3 separate regions of the Homo sapiens genome follow, and all the other regions are linked to region 1. The links are contacts of gene promoters, found by promoter capture Hi-C in blood cells and fetal thymus (Javierre and others, 2016). All regions are on one chromosome and are shown on one strand. Each heading gives the region's core, a stretch centred on a gene start or on the middle of the fragment in contact. The rest is flanking DNA. Distances are from core to core; before and after follow the strand shown.

Evidence for each region. The method cuts DNA at HindIII sites, captures the fragments that hold promoters and counts their contacts. A CHiCAGO score of 5 or more calls a contact.
Region 2: a contact is called between a fragment that was not itself captured here and the fragment with the promoter of SIM1 in region 1, in 1 of 17 cell types (endothelial precursors). The highest score is 9.9, in endothelial precursors.
Region 3: a fragment that was not itself captured here is called in contact with the fragment with the promoter of SIM1 in region 1 in 1 of 17 cell types (endothelial precursors); the score reaches 8.8 in endothelial precursors.

The regions. Positions count from the first base shown.
Region 1 is chr6:100,461,890-100,466,794 of GRCh38, forward strand. SIM1 (SIM bHLH transcription factor 1) reads right to left here and starts at 3,032. Exons shown (of 12, transcript NM_005068.3): 1 at 2,725-3,032; 2 at 1,405-2,046. The coding sequence starts at 1,579. The HindIII fragment of the contact is 823 bases long and covers 2,914-3,736 here.
Region 2 is chr6:100,144,384-100,149,288 of GRCh38, forward strand. LOC105377911 (a long non-coding RNA gene) reads right to left here. Exons shown (of 5, transcript XR_001743887.2): 5 at 4,759-4,905. Among named protein-coding and RNA genes, the nearest start is that of MCHR2, 150 kb to the left of the region's middle. The HindIII fragment of the contact is 346 bases long and covers 1,693-2,038 here.
Region 3 is chr6:100,190,995-100,195,899 of GRCh38, forward strand. No RefSeq gene overlaps it. Among named protein-coding and RNA genes, the nearest start is that of MCHR2, 200 kb to the left of the region's middle. The HindIII fragment of the contact is 1,990 bases long and covers 1,406-3,395 here.

The DNA of each region.
Region 1 (4,905 bases), core at 1,782-4,281:
TTTTTTCCCCACAGTTTCCAGGGTCAGAGAAGAACTGTTCAAGGAACTGCTTTAGGAGGGAACGACTAAAGCATCACTTGTAGTTTGAAGGTAGAACTGAACTATAATTTGAAAGTTTTCCTTTAGCTTGGAGCATGTTTTTCATGCTCCACTAATTTGGAGCATGTTTTGCAGGCTTTTTGACTTAGATAATAACTTTTATGTCATGATCAAGCAAAGTGAAACTGCAAACCCAATAATGACTGTTTCCTGCTCATCCATTCATTTAACGGAAAACCACAAACCCCAAACATCTAAAATCAACAACAACAAAAACCTCCAGGGGTCAAATCAGAAGTTCTCATTTGTAAATAAACACAATTCTTTCCCTTGGATTTTTGTTTGTTTGCTTGTTCAGTAATCCCTCTTTTACATTTCTGAATCCCCTTCCCCCAGCAAAGACATATCTAAAATATTTTTAAAAATCTGTTTGCATTATTTGAATCCAAGTAAAGGAAAAGATGGACAAATAGAAAAGTGTCCTTTTCTAGTAAGTATAAATGGTTGTATATAGGACAGTGTTCTATGAAAGCTGCTCTGTCCTCACACAGTGAATCTTGATAATCTAAATATGAGTTTTAAATCATGTCAACAGCTCAGCTATTCTAACTTCTAGGCCTTATAAGACAATTTTCTCAGGATCTATTTGCCAACCTGCCACCCAGAAGATATTTTCTAAGCGGGCTAGCCATCTTAATTCAATCTTATGTATTTTAGGACTAGCCTATTATCTTACAGATAACATCAAGCCCACAGTTGCAAATCATCAAGCTCCAGAGTTAGTTTCAGAATCTGCGAATGTCTTGAAAACTCGGAATAAATTTGCTTAGAATTTATTTAAGAACTTGAGTAAATTCAGGCATACTTGTTCACAAATATGCATGTTACTCATTTGCAAATCTTTAGATATATAGAGAAATTATTATCTGGCCTATCTAGCTCCAGGTACATGGGTCTATCCACACCTGGCAAAAAAAAAATACAGAATTAGGCGGTGCTCCTGGTTTTTACTGGACAAAATTCTAACAAGAGGAGTAAAAAAGAAAGTCATGTTTGGATTAGTAGTACTTTCAATTGAGCCTAGTATCTGAAGTGTTGACAAAAGGACTGTTGGGCTGCTTCCCAACCAAACATATCTGATGGACTGAAGAGAAAGTATTGATGGGGAGGTAGAGGGAGCCTCAAAAAAGCGACAGAAATTCTGAGTTCAGTGAGGACCTTAGTGAAGCAGCCGAGCTAAACTTCCCTTTGCAAAATATATATGTAAATATGTATGCATTTCTCTGGTCACTGATGTCGGCTCATTGCCTGGCAAATCCCCGGCCCCTTCTGCCTTTGAAATTCCATCTGGGCAAAGTCACTTACCTTCTGGGAACACCACTCTCATTTTGAGATAGCTGGTCGTGAGTCTGATTATGGATGCTTTGTCCAGCTGCGAGGTGATAGCCGAGGGCAAAGGCAGTAATTTAGCCAGTTCATAAAATTCACTGTTTTCCTTCTCCCTCCTAGTCCGCGCAGCATTTTTGGACTTTTCTTTCATTGTGTCTTGTTCCCCCTTTCTTCTCACAACTTAAGCTCCGCAGATTCATCCAAAACCAAAAATAAACTTTCAATTAGAGATCATATTTGGCAAAAACATAAAACATACTTTGAATAAAGAGGCTGAAGTATTTGCACCAAGAACAGTGTATTGATGGCAGTAAAAGACCAGCGGGGGTGAACGGAAAATATGTTCTTTGAAAATTCGGGATGCAGTATAGGAAAGTTGCTGATCCACCGAATTTGGGCGATCCACCGAATTTGGGCAATCCTGAGGGTCGTTCAGGGTATCAAATGCCAGTGGGACCCCTGAGGAGCCAGCCTTTTCTTCTACTGCCAGCTGCGAACCCTGGTCCTCGGAAAATCGACATAATAATCCCTGACGTTTGCTCTTCAGTCTCGCGGCATTTAAGGTATCTCCGAGCCCCTTTGGGAAGAGCAGGAACCCCAGACAACTCTTTCAAGGCCCTGTGAAGACAACAGCATCAGAGCATAAGAGATCAGCGGCTCCACAAGTACTCACACACTCGTCCCAATTCCAAAAACACGGCCGGAAAGGGCCTCAGTGCGCCTAGCCAGGCGTTTTGGGTTTGTTTTTAAAGAAACGGGTAAATCGGCAGCGAGACAGCCCCCTGCAAATAATGCTGGCATTCCCTCACCCATGCCAGCCGCATCCTCCAGACCCCTGGGAAGTTGCCCAAACAACAAAATACATATTTCTGAAGACCCGCAAGGGATCTTCCGCCGCGGATCCCCGAGTCCGCGCCCAGGCCGGGCGCACGTCCCAGGAAAGCAGGTTTCCGCAAATCAGAATTCCTCCAAGGCGAGGCAGGGGCCTTTCAGCTCCCTACCTTGGCAGATCTGGACCTTGGCTACCTCTTTAACTTGGGTCTCAAGTCTGAGGGATTCCTCAAAAAGTGACACTTACACACCAAGTCTCTCGGGACTCCCAAGGCGACCCAGCGCTCTGGCTGCCCAGCAGGGGCTGCAACAAGCGGGGCCCAGCAGCGCCAGGTTAACAGGTGGCGCGCTCGCGACAGCCCCTCGCAGGCTCCCCCGGGGGTGGGAGGCGCCGCGGCCTCTCCCACACCACCGCGGAGCTGCGGGGCTGCTGGGCGGGCGCGGGGCGTCTTCTGCTTCACCTACCTTCAGTCCCCACAAGCGGCAGAGGTTTCGGGGGCGCCCATCTCTTAACTGTTCTCATGCCTACCGTCCAACCCAGCGACACCGCCGGCCTCTCCGCTTCCCACCGGCAGAGAGGAGCAGAGCATTCCCGGCTCCCTTTTCTGGATCATGAATTGGAGGAGGGGTGCGTGGCAGAAAGAGGAGGATGCAAGCTTTGGGACGAGTGAGGTGATTTTAGAATCCTGGTCCTCCGTAGTTGCTACGAAGCCAGTTCACTATTATTCCTAATTGGAAGCCGAAAACTGCCCCCCGTAACTTCTTTATAGCTTAAGGGTTTAGCTTCAACTTCACTCCGGGGCCGCCTCTCTCCCGCCCTCCCTCAATGCCACTCACAAGCCCCCTCGCCTCCCATTGGCCTGGCGCGGCCAGGGGCGAGGCGCTCATTGGCCAATAGGGCTGAGTGACACGAGTCGGCCCCGAGCCGCCCTCCGCGCGCCCAGGCTCCGGGCTCTGAATCTTACTACCCGCGGGACCGCTGGACTCCTAATGAGCTCAGGGTGCCGGGTCGGCGCTGTCCGGTTGCCGCCGCTGCTCGCGGCCTCCTGGGCCTTCCCGACGTCGTGCGCGACCCGCGCTCCTCGAGCTCCCTGGGGTCGGGTGGTTGAGCGCTCAGTCCAGCGCGGCGGCCCAGCAGAACCGGGAACGTCCGGAGGCAGCGGAGGTCGGGCCTGCGGGTTAGGTCTACCGGCGGAGGAGGCAGGGTTCGCCCAAAGGCCCATCCCGCTGGCAGTCGCTGGCCGACGGCGTGCGCGAGGCCGGTTTGGGGAGTTATTTTCTCTTTCTCGTTTCTCTGAAACCATGGCGACACGGAATTCATTGCCAGAGGAAATAAATACAATAACTGTCTTTAAATTAATCCCAAAGAAGTGCGTCTTTTTCGAAATGGCTTGGGTTTGGGGCTGATTTTTTTCACCGTGGAAACTCGGCCGGGGAGTTTTCCTATGGGGAGCAGCTAGGGGGACACTAGGGGAAAAGCTTACATTTCAGGGCAAAATAGAATGATTGATATAGAGATACATAGCTCCCAACAGTCCTTTATCTTAAACATTAGCCAACTCTTTGTCGGGTTTTGTTTCAGGAAACAAAAGTCCAACATGATTATTCCTTACAGAAAGGATACAGTCTACATGAATGAACTTAACGATGCTCGCGGTTCCCTAATAGGAGCTGTTTAAACAAACGCTCACCAGGACTCTTGCTGACTAATTATCTTTTAGAGACCCTCTAATTTGAACCGCCTTCTCTTTCTCTCATCTGAGAAAACACAACAGGTAGCATCAAGAAAAAGTCAAATTGTCCCAAAAACAATTGTTGTCCTCACGAATCACCCCCTACAGACTCGACTCCCGGCTTGGTTTTGGTACGCCGGTGACCAGATTCGGCTCCTAGAGGTGCGTTTGGAGGGAGTTGTTTCATCTACCATAAAAATCAGTGAGAACACCAGTGACGGGGCACTCATCCTCTCGTTTGTGGCGCTAATTGCCACTGAGAAAATAAATACTTTGAAGAGGGGTGTGTGCCATTCTGCTGATATTCAGAACAACTTTAAGAGTGTTTGTTCAAAAATACAGACATCTGCCACCTCCTTGCCGCCCGATGGCAGTAAGATAGTCGTAGAAGGACAACAGCAGCTTTCTGGTGTTATTTACATATCTGGGCAACACCTGGCTGGAGGAGGTGAAAGTTTTGGATAGAAAGAAAAAGAAAGAAGCACGGAGATTTTGTAGGTCTTTCAAAACTGGAATCCAGCTAATGGACTCTAATCTAGGAGGAGTCATTTCCCCAGTGGCTGTAGCCACTTAGAGATCTGGTTCTGGGCGCCTTCCAACCACCCAATGATGCGCTTTTAACAAGACATAGCTAGAAGATAGCGAGAGATGCACTGTGGCTCACTTATACACAAGATTCCAGAAAGATCAGATAAGGTCAAGTTGGCTACTACATGTAAAGTCGGGGGTGGAGGGTGCGTGTGGAGAGGGGAAATAACCTTTCTTGACCCTCCTCTCCCCTCCAACCAGGTCACATATAGCTGCCAGGCGAAGCAATGACACTTAGGGTTAAGAGGAGGTTTTCCATTCGACTGTGTTCTAGAGAGGATTTCAGTCAAGACCGCGGTTACTCTAACCCTATCTCTACTTAAAA
Region 2 (4,905 bases), core at 616-3,115, 320 kb before region 1:
CAGCCCTTTGGGAGGCAGAGGCAGGCGGATCACGAGGTCAGGAGATCAAGACCGTCCTGGCCAACATGGTGAAACCCCGTCTCTACTAAAATACAAAAAATTAGTCGGGTGTGGTGGCACATGCCTGTAGTCCCAGCTACTCAGGAGGCTGAGGCAGGGGAATTGCTTGAACCCAGGAGGCGGAGGTTGCAGTGAGCCTAGATCGCGCCACTATACCCCAACCTCGTGACAGAGCAAGACTCAGTCTCAAAAAATAAAATATAGATAAATAAATAAATAAATATTTTTTTTAAAAAAAGGAATTAGGCACAGTAAGCACCCTGCCTAGGGCCCAATATACTTTTAGGGGCACACAAAAAAGGGCTAAGTTCTTTTAAAAATCAGAAGGAAAAGTGAATGTTATATAATAATGAATATATAAAAATGAATCAAGCCTGAATTATCTTTATACCAACAGATTTGCAAAACATAATTTTTAAGATTTTTTGGAGGCAGAGGCCTACAAGAGTAAATGTGCCTAGTGCCTATGGAAAAGGTGGCCCTAGAACTAACCCTGCAAAGTTTTGAGAAATATTAGGTCAAAGTAATCTCCACAGAAGTTTGCTCAGTGCCAAGCACAGATGATTTCGGGAACTGACAGGGAGACACACTGGGTTGAGACTAGAAGGAAGAAGAGGCTCACCAAAAAAACCAGTAAGACCCTGACCACTCTGCATCTGTGAAAATCCAATGGCACTGTCTTGATGTCTTTCCATGTGTAAAACTCTCACATAATTAATGCTCACAGTAATGCCCTGAGGCAGGATTTCTTATTTCCTTTTTACAGATGAGAAAGTTGGAACTTAGAAAGATTGGGTAACTCACCAATGTTACAGGTTAGAAATGGAGGCATAGTCAGACCTGGATCTGTTACTATGAGCTGCCAGTCCTTTCTCTTGTCAAGTTAACATGCATCACAACACACAACTAGAAAATCAAATGGGCGTCATTTTCACTTACCCCACACCACCCTTACCCAACTCCTCATCACCTCACCAAGGCCCTTCTTAGGTTTCTAAGCCAATGCTCATTCAGTTTTGCAAGTTACTTCTTAAACATACAGTGACATCTTTAATAACTACATTTGCAAATCCAAATTTCTTTGATATTGTAAGAAAAGAGCATTTGTCTTTGAATAGAAGCTCTTTCATTGGCTGAATCTGTTCCTTTAAATAATTTAGATCCCCTTAATATAAACTTATGAGATATAAAACTTTCTAAGGCTTTTTAATCTAAAAACTGGATTTACTCTTAGGGGATGTAGTGGAGAAGTGATGATGAGTAATTAAAGGTCATTCTCAAACAAAAATATGTATTTAGAATCAGGTCTTCTAGATTGACCAAAACATATGTGGCAATGTATACTTTGATATTATAATTGCTTGGAGTTTATTTTAGGAGACAATTCTCCAGAGAGTTGATGGATATCTTTGTGCATTATCCTATTCCTTGGCCTTTCTTACTGTGTAGTTAAAGGATATTAGGATTGCTCAATCAGAAAAATGATAGTATTATTAAAACAAATGGAGAATTTTTTATTCTACAAAATTTCTCCTAGGGAGAACATCATATATTTTTAGGAAAAGACACCATTTGGACAAACTTCTTAGTATGGAAGATGAGATCCCTATGGGTTAATTAATCATCCTACAAAGCTTGTGGGACTTGTCCCTCTAGCCCTATGGCTGAAAGCCCTATATGCCGGGTTTGAGTATACCATGTTGGCATGGAAGATGGGCAGAGTTGAATGGCTCTGCACAAAAGATGGGGGAATGATTTGAAGTTTCCAGGAGAAGATCCAAAAGGAAAGAAGAGTAAAAACTAGCCAGAATGATCAGAAAGAGAGAAGAGTTGCGGGTGTCTGAGAAAGGAGCTTGGGAGATATTTTTTTATATATATAATTTTTATGTTGTTTTCTATGAAGTTTGCAAAGCAAATCTCCTTTTTCTCTCCTCAAGGTCTTCAGTAAAGTCTATCTTAATAATGCTTTTGAGAGGGAAGCTTCTTTTCAAGGAACTGCAAAAGGTGCTGAGGAAAACCCAGAGGCTGCAGACCTGGAGGCAGGAGCTGTAGGGCCAGGAGCAGAAATACCTTGGTCCCATTTAAATTTTACTCCAAAGGCAATACCACATGTTGGGAAAAGCAAAAGCATCCACATCCTGGCCCAGCACTGAATATAGAAGGAAATTAATGTTTCTGACAGGGAAATTATTTAAAAGGTCAGGGAACATTTTTCTCTAAAATTCTAAAAACAAAAAACTAAAATATACTAAAGAGATTCATTTTCCCTAGTGATTTTTAAATCAATATTATAATCATATAAAGCCTGTTGGTATGACTTTATTTTGATATATGTAAGGATTTTAATAATGTTATGATTCAAGTCAACATTGTAGATAAATACTGATTTTTGTCCAGTGATTTTTATTATTACTATAATAATAAAGATGAGATATTATTTTATTATCAATCTTTTGGGAGGACAACATATCAAACACTGATATGACTAGGACAGATGATTATGATAATTCCCCTCTAAGTGACTTAGGTACAAATCCTTGGTGTGGTGCACAAATGTTTTCCACACCTGCTTCTATTATTTAGCAGTGTACTCTCCAAATAAACTATTTCATAAGATTTAAGTTGTTTATTTAGTCCCTTATGTTTTCCTTTGGAACTCAGCAGATTACTCTGAATAGGTCTAAGCTGGCAAAGTAAACAATTAATAGAGACATATAATCTTGGTAATACATGTGTCCAAAACCTCTTCTTTTTCCTCATATAGCTGGTCTTTATGAGAATTACTGTAGGTCTCCACTTTCTTTATTTTACAAAATAGCCAAGAAGATAGTTGAGTTTTAGCATGTAATCCCTGGAGCTCTGTTTGCTTTCCTGAAATGACCTGAAACCACTGGGTTACATCTAATTAATATGTTGTTGGCAGAACACACTAAACAGAAGTTGTCAAAACCAAGTGATTAGAGATTTAGACTCAGGGTTTAATTACATGTGTGGCTTCCCAAGAGTTACTGCAAAGAATATAACTGCTTCAAGTCTGTGAGATCCAAGGTTATTTTTTAAAAGCCTCATTAGTAAATTTTTTAAAAATCATAGAGTATGCTGACAGCAAATATTTTCAAATGCAATTTCTTTTAATCTTGTCAAGTAGTAAATATTTGGTGTTTCATAAATTTGAAACCTCTTCCCATAAAAATGAAAGAGAGCTGTGAGATGAAACATTCTCTCAATAGTTTTGACCTAAAAGTTTTGATAAGAAAAAGCAAACTTTGGGGCCCATATTATTCAAATTGACTGTCTACATTAATAAAGCTCACCGGGTAAGCGGGGCTTTTTTACTTATCCAATGTAAACACACTCATAGCCCAATATCTTTGCAAATTTCACACTATATTTGCCAACCATAAAATCTCTGCAAACATTGGACAGAATCACCTCTTGCTACCTGGTAACGATGTTTATAAATGTATTTATTCAGATAAGATGACAAAGTGCATTTAAAAAATATTTCTCAGAAGAGATTTTAGAAATGTTTTTTAGCAATCTGAAATCTTCATTCCCTGTTCTGCATAGATGCTGCCAATGGCTAGATATGCAAAAATGGGGAAAAGTCTGAGGTAGTTAGTCAAATAATTTTTATTATCATTATTTTGCAGAATGCTTTCATAAGATACATGAATGTAACTGAGGCAAAGTGTGTGTGTGTGTGTGTCTTTTTTAATCATTAACTTTTGGAATACACGTATGACCATACTGTCAATGTGACCTGAGGACTCTGTAAGTTCCTTCCATTTATTTAGGGTTCATTTGAAGCAATTTTGTTCTCCACTCTGTGGTGCTAGCTCCATCTAACTTTTTGTCTGCCTCAGCAGTGGAGCTTATCTGGATTCTGCTCTAAGACAATCCCATGAGATTTTACCAGTGACTAAGGTTCAGTTCTTCCATTTGTCTTATCCTTGGCCTTTACCTACTTGGGGTCTGGAGCTGGGGGTCAATCCTATGTGATTTCTAAGAATTGTTCCTTGACTATGTCCCTGTGAGTGTTGCTCCAACCCAGGCATCTTTCCCAAACAGAGTGGGTGCCTTCCTCTCCTTCCAACATCATGGCCACAAGACTCCAATAGCTTCTACCCTAGAGCTTGGCTCCCTTAAGGTGGTCACTGACTGACGCTTGGTTACTGAATGAGGCAGATCCAGTTTAATATTGTTCCACTGTGGCTAACTAAATGCTGCAGAATGCAATGCCTCCTTTTGAAATTATTAATATCCTTCCCTAATTCAGAAATATGTAATTCAATTCTCTGTTTTTATTGGTGTTGAAACAAACAGAAAACTCCTCAGGGATGTAATTCAAAGGTTTATAATTTGTGAGAAGTATATATTTGGCATCATGGATTTCTGAAGTATAAAAGAGAAGTGCTTGAAATAATGCAGAAGAAAATGAAGAAATCAGTTATAATTCCTCCTTGACTAATGAAGGGATTAATCTTCATACTTTTTCCAGAAACTGACATAAATTCCTCCTTCACTGAATGATTTGTTTTGGTCTAAAGAAAGATATTAATAAACAAAATTTGTATTTTTACAAAAGAGAAGCACAAATGAAAAAAATTGTGGAAGTCAAAACTATTGCTTATGATACATAACAAATATCAGCAACTTTTAGGAAATTTGTAATTTTCAATAAATAGCCATAGTAGATAGTTTTATAATTTTATTAGTCTCTTTTATTAATGTTCATAGTTTGCAGCTAATCTGGTTATATATTCTTTAATCCATAACTCTAAATTTCATGTACATAAGCAATAGTATCAAAAGGCAAAAAATCACACTTAGAAGTAATCAGGC
Region 3 (4,905 bases), core at 1,151-3,650, 270 kb before region 1:
TTCTGGCAGTGCCAGGCTTGTGATCTGTTGGAGCTGTTGCTGCCTGTGCTGCCTCTTCTAGCATTTTTGAATTGGAAAAAAGATGGAACAGGGAAAGCTGGAGATCAGAAAAAGGAGGCTTGGCTCACATAATAGCTATTCCCTTAATCTATGCAGATTTGATATCTTCCCTTTCTTTAAACGATTCATTTCTGTGACCGTCACTCCCCCATTGCCAGCATTGACCCTAACAATTCTTTTTTGTCCTCATTTACATGGCCCTCGAACTTTAGAAATAAAACATTTAGAACAAAGCCATATTTCCCCACTTCCATAAAACTTTCCTGTTTGTGCAATGCTACCTATTAGAACACTCTAATCCAAAGAAAAGTGACTGAAAAAATTTAGATTACTCAAAATGGCATCTTGATTTTTATCAGTTGGCTTTATTCTGAAATTAGATTCTTACCTTGATCTATGTTGGACTGAAACCTCCTGCCCACCAAATAAGGTCATATTTAATCACCAAATTATGCCCTATGGTCGTGAAAATCACGACACTTGTTTTCATAGGCAGGCTCTCAAATGTCCAAATCTTAATTTGGCTAAATTATATCTGTTTGATATGTTTGTTGGTTTGTATTAAACTGAACTGAATGAGGAATGAGAGATCTGGTCCTTTACTTATTGTCACCATATGTAAACTATTCCATCTATAACCAAAAGAAAGACAACACACACATACACACACACACACACACACATACACAAACACACACACGTTAGTCATTACTCCACTCATTATTTGAGCGGCAATAAATTTATTAGTTTATTATTAACTTTATTATTCCCAGTTGAAAACCTTAAATCATATTATACAAATACATTCAATCTCTCAAATTAAATTTAGTAGGAACAAAATAAAACTTTATAGTTCATAGACTGAAAATCTTCTACATTCAAATAATAATTTTTGTAAAAATGTAAGCAATATTGTTTTTGCTGCCCAGCTTTAATTCTTTTAGGGACATGAAAGGAGGAGGTCACACCAAAAAAAAGTCAATTTACTTTTGAAATGTTTTCAAATGATGAGAGGAAGGGGACTATATTATAAAAACAGGATATTGAGCTCAAATGAAGATGAGTATAGCTGTGGCACCCAAGGGATGTTGGTTCTTGGAAGTAGAGTGGGGGCAGGTTTTATTTGAAAATATGTAATGAAGTTTGCCATAATACAACAACCTGGGGACTCTAATTAAGAGGTAGCATAATAATAATATTGATTTTTTAAACTATAATGATTTCTCTCTTGGCAAGCCCTGCAGGACAAATTACCAAAACTCCAGACAGCTCTTATTTTCCCTTTCTTCTGAGTAGATTCGATCATGAAGATCACTCATCCATTACCAACTCTCCATCTCTTAGAAGCTTCAGGAACATGCAGTGTGGCTTTCCTGGCCACCACCTCTTCAGCAGTGTTTTCTTTATGCTGTGACATAGCCATTTGTTCCCTGTTGCTAATCCATCTCTCCAGGAATGGTCCTAGAGATGCTTCCTCTCCATTGGGCACTATTCTTTGGTGGGGATAAGGTTCTTTCTTCAACCAGAGGTGAAATTCTCTGGACCAGAGGAAAACATGGAGCACACTTAAGGGTCCTAATCTCCAGCAGAAGCCCCAGCATTAAAGTTCTTTATTTGAGTCATTCTTTCCATTTTTTTACAGCAACCCATCTCTCTAAAGAAATATATACAGTCTTCTGCAAGGGTTATATGAAAGTAACATTGGTTTGTTCATTATTTCTTCATTATACAATGTTGATTTAGAACCTACTATGTGCCAACCTCCTTCTCACATCATTGATCAAGACAATAAGCTCCCCTAAATCTTATTTTCTAATGAAGGGAAGCTGGTAGGAAAAAAATAAATGCATTAAAATGATCCAAATAGTGACATATTCAATGTAGGAAATTAAGTATGGAAGGAGAATTTTCAAGGGAGTAGACATGCAGTGTCTTCAAATAGGTGGACAGGAAAAACATCTCTGAGGCCCACCGGTGCTGAGGCCTGGGAAAAAGCAGGTGGCAGCATGCTTGCTGCTTTCCTTTGAGAAGCAGAAGGTAGGTTAGTGTGGCTGGAGAACAGTGAGACAGAGAAGGGTGCAAAAGGAGGTCAAAGCAGTCCAGACCAGGGCCTAGGAAGCTATAGCAGGAAATTTGATTCTTGGTTAGCAGTAGTGTGAAAGAAGAATAACCATATCAGCTAAATCAATATGATTATATGACTAAGTCATTTGAAAAGAGAATTTGCCAATAGGTTTACATATCAGTGCATGGACTGAGCTAATGCCACACCTGAGCAATTGTCCACCTTAGCAATTACCACACCTTAGCATTTCTTAGAAAATGTATACAGAAAGAGTTTCAGGCACAGGCCAGCTGATGTTCCTATTCAAAGAAAAAGAGCAAGAAAAAAATAGAAATAAAATTATATCCTTTTTCAATAAATATGGCAAAAAGATAATATAATTTCATTTTTCAAGAGCAAGGTTACATGCATCGGTCTATGAATTGGTATAAGAAAGTATAGTTTCTACAAAATGTGTTACATACAGTAAAAATTTTCATTCATTTAAGCAATGCATGTCAATATCACTGAAAAACGTGCCAATGTGCAATGCCATGATGTACGCTAACCAAGAAAGCCCTAGGTTCAGCTGTCTTCACAAAGGAATAAGTCATAGTTTTGACCACTCTAACAAAAAGAACGTTTTTAAATAGAGCATGTCATTGGGCAAATTTTGTTCCATTAACTACTACTTCTGCCTATGAATGAATGCTTATACAAAAACTGTTGTTCTAACAGTTTGAGGTGATTGGAGAAAGGGATCTAAATTTTGTTTTCTTTATTTTTATTTTTATTTTTTTTTTGAGACAGAGTCTCTCTGTCGCCAGGCTGGAGTGCAGTGGCGTGATTCCGGCTCACTGCAACCTCTGACTCCCCGGTTCAAGTGATTCTCCTGCCTCAGCCTACCGAGTAGCTAGGAATACAGGCATACGCCACCACGTCCAGTTAATTTTTGTATTTTTAGTGGAGCCGGGGTTTCACCATGTTGGCCAAGATAGTCTTGATCTCCTGACCTTGTGATCCGCCCACCTTGGCCTCCAAAAGTTCTAGGATTACGGGTGTGAGCCACAGTGCCTGGCCTGAATTTTTATTTTCTCCATCACTTCATTCCTATTTGGAAAGCCAATAAGTAACAACAAATATTCTGAAGCACTCTAAGAGCTTGCCTGCAATGTTAAACCAATGAGTATTTAGGAAGAGAAATATAATCCACATGTTCTTGATTAACTTATAATTAAATCATTTGTAAGAGCCATTTGACGTCCAAAACGACTTGTAAGATTTTTTTATAAGCTTTGTTTCCTTAAAGCAAAAAGATCTATTATTGCCAAGAGTAAACAAAGCTTAAAGGCACATCTACTTTAACAACAACAACAACAACAAAGCCTAAAAAGCAAATAACCAAACAAAAAAAAAAAGCAACAAAAACAAAAGCCATTCAATAGCATGATGAAAATGCACTGTACCTCAAAAGTAGACAATACTCCGACTCCAGAGCCATGTACATTGACAATCCTCTTAAGTTTTGACCCAGATATAAATTGCTGGCCAATCTCACCTCATTTACCCTTTTATGATTGGATGGGTAGGACTTGGAACAGAAACTTAACTTTAAATGCAAACAGCTGCTACAACTGACCTAACCCCAAACAACTCCAGAACGCCTACTCTCAGACCTTGCTTTGATCTTGGACCATTAACAATAAGACTGAGAAATTTGTGACAGGGAGACAAATCGAAATTTTCCCACATATGTAATAAAAACAGAGTTCTTTTTTTTTAACTATACTTTTTACTATACTTTTTAAATTTACTTTGTTCCATGTAGGAACAAAGTAGGAAGTATTTATGTCACTCGGTATGGGACTTCAGAGTAGATGGTCCTAACCAACTCTAAAATTTAATAATCTTCTTGTGACCAGCTTGCCAATAGAAAAAGCATCTTATAGTTTGCCCTGTAAGTGAACTTGGGCAAAGAAACAAATATAGGGACAAAGATTCAGCAAGAAAGTTGAATCTTTTTCAAAAATAAAGAATATGATTGACAAATATTTAATGACTCCACATTTAGAATCGAATCATTGAATATGTTTTTGGTAAAGGATATATGTGAAACTTAACTCTAAATGTCCTATATTTTTAAAATAATGTATACAAAAACACATTTTTAAAACCAAATTGTTTACTATTCATGCTCAAAGTATTTGCAATTCACTAGAAACCTAAAAATACTATTTTCAAAAATTATTACATAACAAATTCCTATTCGTTGTAGAAAACTAGGAGATACAAATAAATTTAAAGAAATAAATTCACACCATGGAATACTATGCAACCATAAAAAAGGATGAGTTCATGTCCTTTGTACAGACATGGATGAAGGTGGAAACCACCATTCTCAGCAAAACTATCGCAAGGACAAAAAACCAAACACTGCATGTTCTCACTCATAGGTGGGAATTGAACAATGAGAACACTTGGACACAGGAAGAGGAACATCACACACCAGGGCCTGTTGTAGGGTGGGGGAAGGGGGGAGGGGTAGCATTAGGAGATATACCTAATGTAAATGACGAGTTAATGGGTGCAGCACACCAACATGGCACCTGTATACATACGTAACAAACCTGCACGTTGTGCACACATACCCTAGAACTTAAAGTACAATAAAAAAAAAGAAATAAATTCAGATCACCTGTATTTCCACCATCCTGTAGTAACTATTATTAACATGTGTATATGTATGTATGTGTGTGTATATCTATATGTGTGTATATATACATATATATGTATATGTGTAT